Linked DNA regions of Homo sapiens: all the other regions are linked to region 3. Evidence: promoter capture Hi-C in 16 types of primary human blood cells and fetal thymus (Javierre and others, 2016). All regions are on one chromosome and are shown on one strand. Each heading gives the region's core, a stretch centred on a gene start or on the middle of the fragment in contact. The rest is flanking DNA. Distances are from core to core; before and after follow the strand shown. Region 1 holds the start of LOC124901241 (a long non-coding RNA gene). Region 2 overlaps WRNIP1 (WRN helicase interacting protein 1). Region 3 holds the start of SERPINB6 (serpin family B member 6). Region 4 has its middle 24 kb from the start of WRNIP1.

Evidence for each region. Contacts are between HindIII fragments. The CHiCAGO score rates a contact against its expected background, and 5 or more counts as called.
Region 1: a fragment that was not itself captured here is called in contact with the fragment with the promoter of SERPINB6 in region 3 in 3 of 17 cell types (total CD8 T cells, total B cells and neutrophils); the score reaches 6.5 in total CD8 T cells.
Region 2: a fragment that was not itself captured here is called in contact with the fragment with the promoter of SERPINB6 in region 3 in 1 of 17 cell types (total CD8 T cells); the score reaches 6.0 in total CD8 T cells.
Region 4: a contact is called between a fragment that was not itself captured here and the fragment with the promoter of SERPINB6 in region 3, in 13 of 17 cell types (monocytes, naive B cells, total CD8 T cells and 10 more). The highest score is 9.6, in monocytes.

The regions. Positions count from the first base shown.
Region 1 is chr6:2,812,579-2,815,439 of GRCh38, forward strand. It overlaps LOC124901241 (a long non-coding RNA gene), which reads right to left and starts at 176. Exons shown (of 3, transcript XR_007059408.1): 1 at 1-176. The HindIII fragment of the contact is 6,275 bases long and covers 1-2,861 here.
Region 2 is chr6:2,769,126-2,771,825 of GRCh38, forward strand. It overlaps WRNIP1 (WRN helicase interacting protein 1), which reads left to right. Exons shown (of 7, transcript NM_020135.3): 3 at 995-1,236. It also overlaps a transcript of MYLK4 not described here. Among named protein-coding and RNA genes, the nearest start is that of WRNIP1, 5.1 kb to the left of the region's middle. The HindIII fragment of the contact is 356 bases long and covers 1,116-1,471 here.
Region 3 is chr6:2,970,219-2,972,918 of GRCh38, forward strand. SERPINB6 (serpin family B member 6) reads right to left here and starts at 1,349. Exons shown (of 7, transcript NM_004568.6): 1 at 1,315-1,349. RefSeq lists an enhancer at 1,130-1,654. The HindIII fragment of the contact is 12,287 bases long and covers 1-2,700 here.
Region 4 is chr6:2,787,774-2,790,474 of GRCh38, forward strand. No RefSeq gene overlaps it. Among named protein-coding and RNA genes, the nearest start is that of WRNIP1, 24 kb to the left of the region's middle. The HindIII fragment of the contact is 302 bases long and covers 1,245-1,546 here.

The DNA.
Region 1 (2,861 bases), core at 92-2,591, 160 kb before region 3:
TTAGCCAGGTGTGGTGGCACAGTCCTGTAATCCCAGCTACTCAGGAGGCTGAGGCAGGAGAATCATTTGAACCTGGAAGGCGGAGGTTGCAATGGGCCGAGATCACGTCACTGCACTTGAGCCTGGGCCACAGAGCAAGACTCTATCTCAAAAAAAAAAAAAAAAAAAAAAAAAAAAAGAAGGAATGGGTTGGAGACAGAGATTTCTTTAACAGCTTTGTTGAGGTATATTGACATATCGTAAACTGCCCATATTTAAGGTATATATTTGCTAAGTTTTGACATATGTATACACCTGTGAAATCATCATCACAATCAAGATGGCAAACATATCCCTTAGCCCCCCAAATTTCTTCATTCCCTTTTATAATCCCTCCCTCCCTTCCCCAGTCCAGGCAATCATCGACCTGCTTTCTGTCACTGCAGACTAGTTAGCAATTACAAGAATTCTATAATATATACTCTTTTCTAGTCTTTTTTTTTTTTTTTTTTTTGAGACGGATTCTTGCTCTGTCACCCAGGCTGGAGTGCAGCGGCGCGATCTCAGCTCACTGCAAGCTCCACTTCCCGGGTTCACGCCATTCTCCTGCCTCAGCCTTCCGAGTAGCTGGGACTACAGGTGCCCGCCACCACGCCCGGCTAATTTTTTGCATTTTTAGTAGAGATGGGGTTTCACCGTGTTAGCCAGGATGGTCTCAATCTCCTGACCTCGTGATCCACCTGCCTCGGCCTCCCAAAGTGCTGGGATGACAGGCATGAGCCACCACGCCCCACCTGTTTTCTTGTCTTGCTTCTTTCACTCAACATAGGTATTTTTGGATTCACACATGTTGTAAAGTTTATCAATAATTTTTTTTTTTGCTAAGTAGTATTCCACTGTATGAATATATGACAATTTGTTTATTCATTCGTCTATTGGTTGACATTTTGGTTGTTTTTGGTTTTTGGCTATTGCAAATAAAACTATTAATTTGTGCATACAAGTCTTTGTGTGGGTCTATGCTTTCTTTTCTGGTAAACACCTATTAATAGAAGTGGAATGACCGGGTCACATGTCAGGTATATATTTAATTTTTTAGTAAATTGTTTTCCAAGCCAGGCACAGTGGCTCATGCCTGTAATCCCAGAACTTTGGGAGGCTGAGGTAGGAGGAACACTTGAGGCCAGAAGTCCAAGACCAGCCTAGGCACTATAGCAAGACCCCATCTCTAAAAGAAAAAAAAGAAATTGTTTTCCAAAGTGGTGTAATAGTTGACATTGCCCCCAGAATATACATTTAGTGTGATCAGTCTTTTTAATTCTAACTATTCTGGTGGGTATACATCTCATGGTGGTTTTAATTTGCATTTCCCTAATGACGATCATTACATGACTAATGATGGTCCTTGCCTTGTTTTTTATCACAGGATGAAAGTATGGGCATCATAGGACGAAAGTAAAGTACCATTAAGTATGGACATATTTTCATGTGCTTATTTACCATCTATATATCTTCTTTGATGCAGTGTCTGTTCACATCTTTTGGCCATTTTTTAAAAAGTGCATATACATTGACATGCAGAGTGGAGTAATAGATAGTGGAGACTCAGAAAGGTGGAAGGTAGGAAGGGTGTGAGGAATGAAATACCACGTATTGGGCATAATGGACACTATTCGGGTGATGAGTACACTAGTAGCCCACACTTCACCACTATGCAATAAATCTGTATCACACAACTGCATTTGTACCCCATACATCTATAAAAATAAAAATTAAAAACATAAATAAATTGGGCTGTTTGTCTTCTTATTATGTAGTATTCTTTATACAGTCTACATACAAGTCCTTTGTCAAATATATGTCTTGCAAATATTATCTCCTGGTCTATGGCTTGCTTTTGAGGAGAAAAGAGTTTTTTTGTTCTGATAAAATCCAATATACTGTTTTTAAAAAAAATAGTTTGATTGTTTTATGTCATACTGAAGATTTCTTTGACAAACCCAGTGTCACTAAGATTTTCTTATATATTTTATTCTAGAAGTTATGCTTTTTTAAGCTCTTGCATTTGGGTCTATGCTTCATTCTGTAGTTCATTTTTGCATATTAAAATTATACACAAGGAATAGTGTTGAGATTCATATTTTTGCATATGGCTGTCAAATTGTCCCAGAACCATTTGTTGACAAGATTTTACTTTCCCCATAGAATTGCCTTGGCACATTTGTTAAAAATCAATTGACCGTATATGTGTGGGTCTATTTCTGGACTCTCTATTCTGCCCCATGTGTATATATAATATAGAATACATATATATATGTGTGTATATATATATCCTTAATCTCAATATCACACTACCTTGATTACTGGATCTTTATAACATGTCTTAAAATAAGGCATTTTAGACTGGGCACAGTGGCTCATGCTTGTGATCCCAGCATCTGGGGAGGCCGAGATGAGAGGATTGCTTGAGCCTGGGAGTTTGAGACCAGCCTGGGTGCCATAGCAAGACCTCACCTCTGCTAAAAATAATAATAATAAAATATTTTAAAGCCTCTAACGTTTTACATCTTTTTCAAAGTTGCTTTGACATGATTATTCTAGGTCTTTTGCATTTCCATGTAAATTTTAGATGTAGCTTTTCAGTTTCCACAAGTAGCCTGCTGAGATTCTGACTGGGATTGTATTAATCAACAGATCAATTTGGGGAGAATTCACATGTTAACAGTATTGAATCTTCCAGTCAACAGGCATGGTAATTCTCATCATTTTTGTTTTGTTTTCTTTCCTTTCTTTGAGCTGTTTTGCAGTTTTCAGTGTACAAATCTTACATATATTTTGTCAAACTTTTAATAAGTATCTTATATTGATGCTGGTGCAAGTGA
Region 2 (2,700 bases), core at 44-2,543, 200 kb before region 3:
AGCACCTTTGAATCAAATTTCCAGTTTTAGGAATTTTTAATCTAAATACTAGGAGTCATTGTGAACAGTAAAATAATGATTTTAAGGTCATTATTTTAATGGGTTTTTAAAAATTACTTTAACAGTATTTTTATTTTGAAAATTAAACAATCGGTATTTTCTGTAACTCCAGGCTCTGTCTTCAAGGTGAATGTTGGAAGAGCTAATGATTACTGTTTATTTAAATGGGTTTCTGAAATAAAAGGACACAAGCTATTTTTATAAACAAAGCCACTTAGGGATTTAAAAAAAAATAAACATTAAAATTTTATTGGGCTGAGATCTGAGAGCTATACTCTAAATAAAAAAAAATTAAATTTTTAGGCATAACTTTAAAAAATTTTTTTTTGTAACTTTTTAATCATACATAGAATATTTCACAAAACTCTACTGAGCCTTTTTTGAACCTTTTTGAATAAAAAGACCCTTTTAAAGTTCTGACGAGGCGTTAGCATTCTAGGTTTCATATTGGACCACTGACTCATCTTAGTATTTTTTCCCCATAAAACAGCATAATAGGAATAATAATAATATGATTGAGTGCTTGCTGTGGAAGAAGATTCTGGAAGTGTTAATGTTTTTGTGTGTTCTTGTCTATAAATAAATAGCTGTTACATATAAGCTATGTGCCAGTTCAGCCTTTGGTAGAAGATGGTTTTCTGAGTAAAGAAATCATTTATGTTGAAACTAAGCTAGAATTCTACTTAAAGCTATTAGTCTACCAGCAAGAGATCAGGCTTGGACGGGCATTCCAGAAGATGTGTTTCAGACTTAAAAGCAAGAGTTGTACTCCCCCAAATATTGCATCTATATTCAGTGAATATAAGGCTGCTGCTATTCCTGAACTCGAAAGATAAAAATGAGGAAAAGGAAGGAAGGGATAGCCAACTTACATAGGATTCTGCAGGTGGCTGTTGACTGGAATCACTTTTTTCTGTTTTCCTCCCATGATTAGGACACTTTCCTTCCTCACGTGGAATGTGGGACGATCACTCTGATTGGGGCAACCACTGAAAACCCTTCCTTCCAGGTCAACGCTGCTCTTCTGAGCCGCTGTCGAGTGATTGTTCTTGAGAAGCTTCCAGTAGAGGCAATGGTGACTATTTTAATGCGAGCGATCAACTCCCTGGGAATCCACGTCCTAGACTCTAGCCGTCCCACTGACCCTCTGAGCCACAGCAGCAACAGCAGCTCAGAGTAAGTTGACAGTGTGCAGCGTCCTGGGGGCACACACCTCCCAGAGAGTCTCCTGGCAGGGGGCCAGAAAGGGCCGGGCGTCAGTGAGGAGAGGGTGGGGACAGAGAAGAAATGTTGATCCGCCCGTAATGAAAATAAAAGAGGAGGGAAATGTTCGATTATACCTAACAAAGTTATCCCTGCACACTTGAAGATGCATTTTCCAGCCTCTAATATGTGTTTCTATAATTCTTCAAGCTTTAACTTTGCTTTGTTGTTTTGGTTCTTGGGTGTTTGCTTTTGTGCTTAGGCTTCTATGGGAAGCCTTATTGATGATTTGAAAGGCTTTATGTCCCTCATTGAATAGAACAAATAGATAGATAAATACTTTCTAGACTTACCATACAACTCTTTTGAGCATTGTACTCATGTTTCAATTTCTTTTTAACCTGCAGTTTAGCATTTTGTTAAAAAAAAAAAATCAAGTAAAAATTAACTTGTAACCTTAAAATTATGTAATCCTTTTTGTGTAGTTGAAACTCAGTTTCATGAAAGTAAAGGAATGTTAACTGAATATGACATTATAGGCTGTCCCTATCCTTTTAGTGACCTATTTCTGCATCATGAGTACCACATGAGCTCGTTAATGCACCAAGTGTATATCATAGATAATTTGATTTCTTGGGTCAGGGGTTTTCCTTTTTTTTAATATTAGAACATATTCTTCAGATGGTATTTGTTCATACGTTGGCTGAAATACTGCCATGGAACATAATCTGGTGTGATGAGAGGCTATTGCCCACCTCCTCCTGCTGTGGACTCTGCAGCTGCTCGTGCCTGCCCTGAGGCCAAGTTCTGGAGCCACTTTTCTGTGAGGATTAAAGTACAAGGCATAGTTTAGGCTCAGGGTTTAGGTTTCACCAGGCTCTCCCTATGTGTCTGGCCCCATTTGCTCCTGTCTGAGATGGAGGGAGAATTCTGCTGTGTCTAATGAAAGCATTGAAACATTTGGCCCGTGGACCACTGGGTAGGACAGAGTGGCCTTGTTTTGGAATACCGTTGTGATGGGGATAGCCATTACATCTGTGGCCACAAGCAGTGTGTGGAACCTGTGGTATCAGCCACATGGACTCATACTCAGAAGTGCTTTATGTGGTGGGCATTTGTCAGAGCCTAAGGGGGCTGCCAGCTCCTCATATGTAGTACAGGTTGAGTATCCCAAATCTGAAATCCAAAATGCTCCCAAATCTAAAGCTTTTTGAGCACCTTCATGATGCTGTGAAAGGAAATGCTTATTGGAGCACTTCAGATTTCTGGATTTTGGGTGCTCATCTGGTAAGTATATAATGCAAATATTCTAAAATCAAAAAAATAGGAAATTCAGACCACTTCTGGTCCCAGGCACTTCAGATGTGGGATACTCATGTGTAGGTTTCCCGTAACAGAATTCTCATTACAGACGCATAGAACCACATGGTAAAGACA
Region 3 (2,700 bases), core at 99-2,598:
CATGCTAATTTCACTCTACTGTTACTGGTCCGTGTTAACTGTTTCATGCTGAATTGTAATAAAATGCATTGGAATTGGCCTTAACTTAAAATACTTAGTTTACATAGTCGAGTATGACCAAAGTACTTTTCTCTTTGGTGGCACATCACAATGGATGCAATTACTCAGATACGGTCCTGAAATGAGAACAAACGCCATCTATGCTGATAACAGCAGTCACTGGTGTTAATCCCAGCACACATAAAAGCCCCAGCAATACAAGGCCGGCCCAGGACCTTAACTAGAAGGTCACTGAACACATCAGATCTCATCGCATCAGGCCTGACCCCCACCAGAAAGGATGCAGGCAGCTGCAGGGCTGTCATTAGGCACGAGAGCATCCCAGAAAGCAAAAGTGCCCAAAAAATGGACTCAGATGCCCCCTCGCATCTGAGTATTCCTGACAGCATGTGAACATTAATTATTAATTTTCTGTACCTCAGTTTTCCGAAGCCAATCTTTAGGACAAAAAAAAAAAAAAAAAAAAGGAAGAAAATAACTTAAATGCCAATTTGTAGTTAAAGTTTCCTCTTTGCCTTGAAGACATCAAAGCCTGTAATAGTTTGCCTGTAGGGAGTTTAATTCAAACACAGAGCGGTAAGGAGATCCGGGCTGGTCCACACGATCGTCTCCACAGGTCTGGGCGACCTGAAAGTGCTGCGGATTGGCCAAGCCCAGCACGGCCAGTCCAGTGAACACACGCAGGGGGCCCGGATGGCACCGTTTGGCGCCGAACCCCTCGGCCTCTCTCCGCCTCCCGCCCGGCTCCTAACACCCGGCGCCCCAAGACTGAGCACGCGTCCTCCGGGTCGCGGAGCGGGCGAGGGGTCACCGAGGCCGCGGGGCCGACCGGGGTCACCTGTGGCCCGGGAGGCTCTGCGCCGCCCCCATCCCGCGCCGGCCGCCTCTTCCGTGGGCGCTGGGCCTGGGCGCCCGGGGTCCTCGGGTCCGCGGCGTCACCGGCCGGGCTCGCGGCCACGCACGACTCACCCGGCCGCGTCGCCGTTCTCTGCCGCTGCGAGGCTCCGGAAGGGAACCCAAGCCGGACGCTCGCCCGGGCCCCCGCCCCGCTGGGACTGCTGGGGTCACAGCCCCGCGCGGCCACGCCCCATTCTCGGGGCTCCAGCGTCCCCGCGCGCCGTCGACCCACGCGCGTTCCCGGCCCCGCGCGACCCCCACCCTGCCCCCCTCCCCGCTCGCGCCCCCGGCTTTCCCGACTTTGGAGCGACAAACCCAAGCCAGCGTGTCCGAGCGGCTCCCAAGCCAGACACGTACTCCAGAGCGGGGAGCGAGCGAGCAGAACGGCGGGCAGAGGCGCCGGAGCCGCCCCGGACCTCAAATACTCGCGGGGAGGCGGGCGGAGTCCCGGGTCTCGAGCTACCGTCGCCCGTCCGGAGCGCGAAGGGAGAGGCGGGGCGGGACGTGCGGGTCAACCCCACCCGCCAGCCGGAGGGGCCGCGAGTCCTGCCCGGAGGCCTTGACTTTGACCACAGTACAGGGCCCCACCAGCGTGTTTATGGTGCCTCTGTGGAGACTGAATGCTGGCCTGTTTCCAGAAAAGGGCCGGCTCCTGATACACGGCCATCCACTGGGGAGTGCAGAACACGCATTTAAAAATGAGCAGACTAGATACAGGTCACAAAGACTTTGCTGATGAAACAGCTTGCGGCAAAGAAGCCAGCCAGGGGCGGGCGCGGGGCTCACGCCAGTAATCCCAACACTGGGAGGCCGAGGCAGGCGGATCACTGGAGGTCAGGAGTTCCAGACCAGCCTGGCCAACATGGCAAAACCCCGTCTCTACTAAAAATACAAAAATTAGCCGAGTGTAATGGCGCGTGCCTGTAATCTCAGTTGCTGGGGAAGCTGAGGCAGGAGAATCACTTGAACCCGGGAGGCAGAGGCTGCAGTGAGCCGAGATGGCGCCACCGCACTCCAGTCTGGTCCGTCTCAAAAAAAAAAAAAAAAAAAAAAAAAAAAAAAGTAGACTAAATAGCTTTTGCAAAGCAAAAGGAATAGTCAAGCAGAGTAAACAGACAACCTACAGAGTGGGAGAAAATCTTCACAATCTATACATCCGACAAAGCAGTAATATCCAGAATCTACAAGAAACTCAAACAAATTAGCAAGAAAAAAAAATCCCATCAAAAAGTGGGCTGGCATGAATAGACAGTTCTCAAAAGAGGATATGCAAATGGCCAACAAACAAGAAAAAATGCTCAACATCACTAATGATTAGGGAAATGCAAATCAAAACCACAATGTGATACCACCTTACTCCCGCAAGAGTGGCCTTAATCAAAAAATCAAAAACTCAAAAAATAATAGATGTTGGCGTGGATTTGGTGAAGAGGGAACACCTCTACACTGCTGATGGATAGTACAACCACTGTGGAAAATAGTATGGCGATTCCTTAAATAACTAAAAATAGAACTACCATTTGATCCAGCAATCCCACTACTGGGTATCTACGCAGAGGAAAATAAGTCATTATACAAAAAAGATACTTGCACACGCATGTTAATAGCAGCACAATTCGTAATTGCAAAAACATGAAACCAACCCAAATGCCCATCAATCAAAGAGTGGATAAAGAAACTGTGGTATGCGTATACGGTGGAATGCTACTCAGCCATAAAAAGGAATGAATTAATGGCATTGGC
Region 4 (2,701 bases), core at 146-2,645, 180 kb before region 3:
GGTCAGGCTCATCTTTTCAGTCAAGTAGGTCAAGGCATGGCTCCCTGCGTTCTCAGCGCCAGGTGGGGAAAGAGGAAAGTCGTCATACATCACTCAGTATGTGCCTACCACTTTGATCTTCTGACTGAAATGGTACCCAAGCCCCTGGCTCTATCTGGGCCCCTCTGGTTCAGAGATCTTCCCCTGGCCTGGAGTAGGAGAGGGTGTCTGGAGACCCATCTTCCTCTTCCTTACCTGCTGCCACCTCCCAAGCCTCTGAGACGTCTGCCACGTTGATGCCTTGGCATTCCCCACTCGACTTGCCAGGTCAGTTACCATTTGCCCGCCATGTTTCCACCTCCAGCATCATGTTGCCATTATCTCACTTGTTCTCCTCACTTTCAAGGATTGATGGATTTTAAGGATTCCTTTACTGTATTTTTGGTGGAGGCTTAGGAGGAAATAAAATCACATGTGGGTCCAATCCATTATCTTTACTAGTATTTCATTAAGAAATGTATAGCCCAGTTTTTTCTTGATTTTTTTTTTTTTTTTTTTGGAGACGGAGGCTTGTGCTCTTTTGCCCAGGCTGGAGTGCAATGACGCGATCTCGGCTCACTGCAACCTCCACCTCCTGGGTTCAAGCACTTCTCCTGCCTCAGCCTCCTGAGTAGCTGGGACTACAGGCACACACCACCACGCCTGGCTAATTTTTTTGTATTTTAGTAAAGACAAGGTTTTACTGTCTTGCCCAGGCTGGTCTCGAACTCCTGAGCTCAGGCAATCCGCCTGCCTCAGCCTCCCAAAATGCTAGGATTACAGGCATGAGCCACTGTGCCTGGCCAATTTTGATTCTTTAAAAATAACATTTTTACAGGCCAGGCGTGGTGGCTCACACCTGTAATCCCAGCACTTTGGGAGGCCAAGGCAGGTGGATCACGAGGTCAGGAGATCGAGACCATCCTGGCTAACAAGGTGAAACCCCGTCTCTACTAAAAATACAAAAAATTAGCCGGGCGCGGTGGCGGGCGCCTGTAGTCCCAGCTACTCGGGAGGCTAAGGCAGGAGAATGGCGTGAACCCGGGAAGCGGAGCTTGCAGTGAGCCGAGATTGCGCCACTGCAGTCCGCAGTCCAGCCTGGGCGACAGAGCGAGACTCCGTCTCAAAAAAAAAAAAAAAAAAAAAATTTTTGTTGGGGGATGGAGTTACTTCCAAATAAGAAGTGTGCTTGTGATGTAACCGGAGGTGACATTAACTCCTCAACAAGCTTTTCCGTCATGACTCACTCCTGCCAGTTTCCCAAGGGACGGATCCCAGTGGTGGTCAAGGCACAGGTGTGAATTTATGCCAGGACGATATGTGAGCATCGTAACTCAAGCCAACAGATAAGTGATGAGGGCTTTTTGAGATCCATCATCCTATTAGACATGCGGCCCTGAACACAGTGTGTAACGCGGACACGGGGCCTGTGCTGGAGCACGCGGTGCTGGGGAGAGCCTGCAGCACACTTTCTGCTGTATCCAGCAGCGGGGCACTGAGCAGCCAACTTTCTGTAACTGTAAAATCAAGCTTGAAAGTTTGCAAATGCTTGTTTTTTGGTTTCAAAGAATCTTATTTTGTGAAAGCAGATTTTTAAAGTTTTTAAAGCAGATATTCACTGCCTGAATGAATACCTCTCACATACCACAGTGAGCATGACTGAAAGTTTACACCATTAGCTAAACCCTGGGAAAAACTAATGCAGTGAGTCAGAGTTTCTGGTGAGGGAGGCACATCTCTTGCCTGTTTACAGTAGTATTCAACAATTGGGGGCAGCCCTTCCATATGATGCCATTTAAATACCACAAGTTATGGGCCAGGTGCGGTGGCACACACCTGTAATCCCAGCACTTTGGGAGGCTGAGGCGGGCAGGTCACTTGAGATCAGGAGTTTGAGACCAGCCTGGGCAACATGGTGAAACGTCGTTTCTATTAAGTATATAAAAATTGGCTGGGTGTGGTGGCGCACACCTGTAATCTCAGCTACTCAGGAGCCTGAGGCAGGAGAATCGCTTGAACCTGGGAGGTGGAGGTTGCAGTGAGCCGAGATCGCGCCACTGCACTCCAGGCTAGGTGACAGAGTGAGACTCCATCTTAAAAAATAATAATAAATAAGTAAATAAATAAATATCACAAGTTATGTACTGATTCTGAAAAAGCAACATAACCACCAAACACAATTTATTCCTTATGTTCCAAGTGTATTTGGTAGTTTTGTTCACCCTCATAACAGCCAAACCTGAGTTTAAGAACAGTAAGAATAGTGACTTGCAGAGATTTGTTCCAATTGTTACAACAAGAATGGATGTTAACTCATCTTTTCCAGATACAAGTCATCAAACCTGGACAATGTTATCAATTAATTCCAAATGAGAGAACCGGCCTTTTGATACTGATGTTATATTAGAAAGGATGATTTTCCTATACTTTCATATAAATGCCATGGATCTCTTACTTTTTGATGAATTAACCTTTGTGTAGCGACTACAGTTTGAAAGCACTACTACACATTCATAGATGCAGTTCCAGGCAGTTTGAGCCCACAAAGGCATTTATAACTTAAGCAGAAACCAAACAGAAGTAAATATTTTTAATAGAGTTAACAAATCTTCATAAAAACCAATCATTTAAAACTAAATGTTTTGAAGCTCTAAAGCCAGTCAGGCTCCGGGGAGGATGCAGA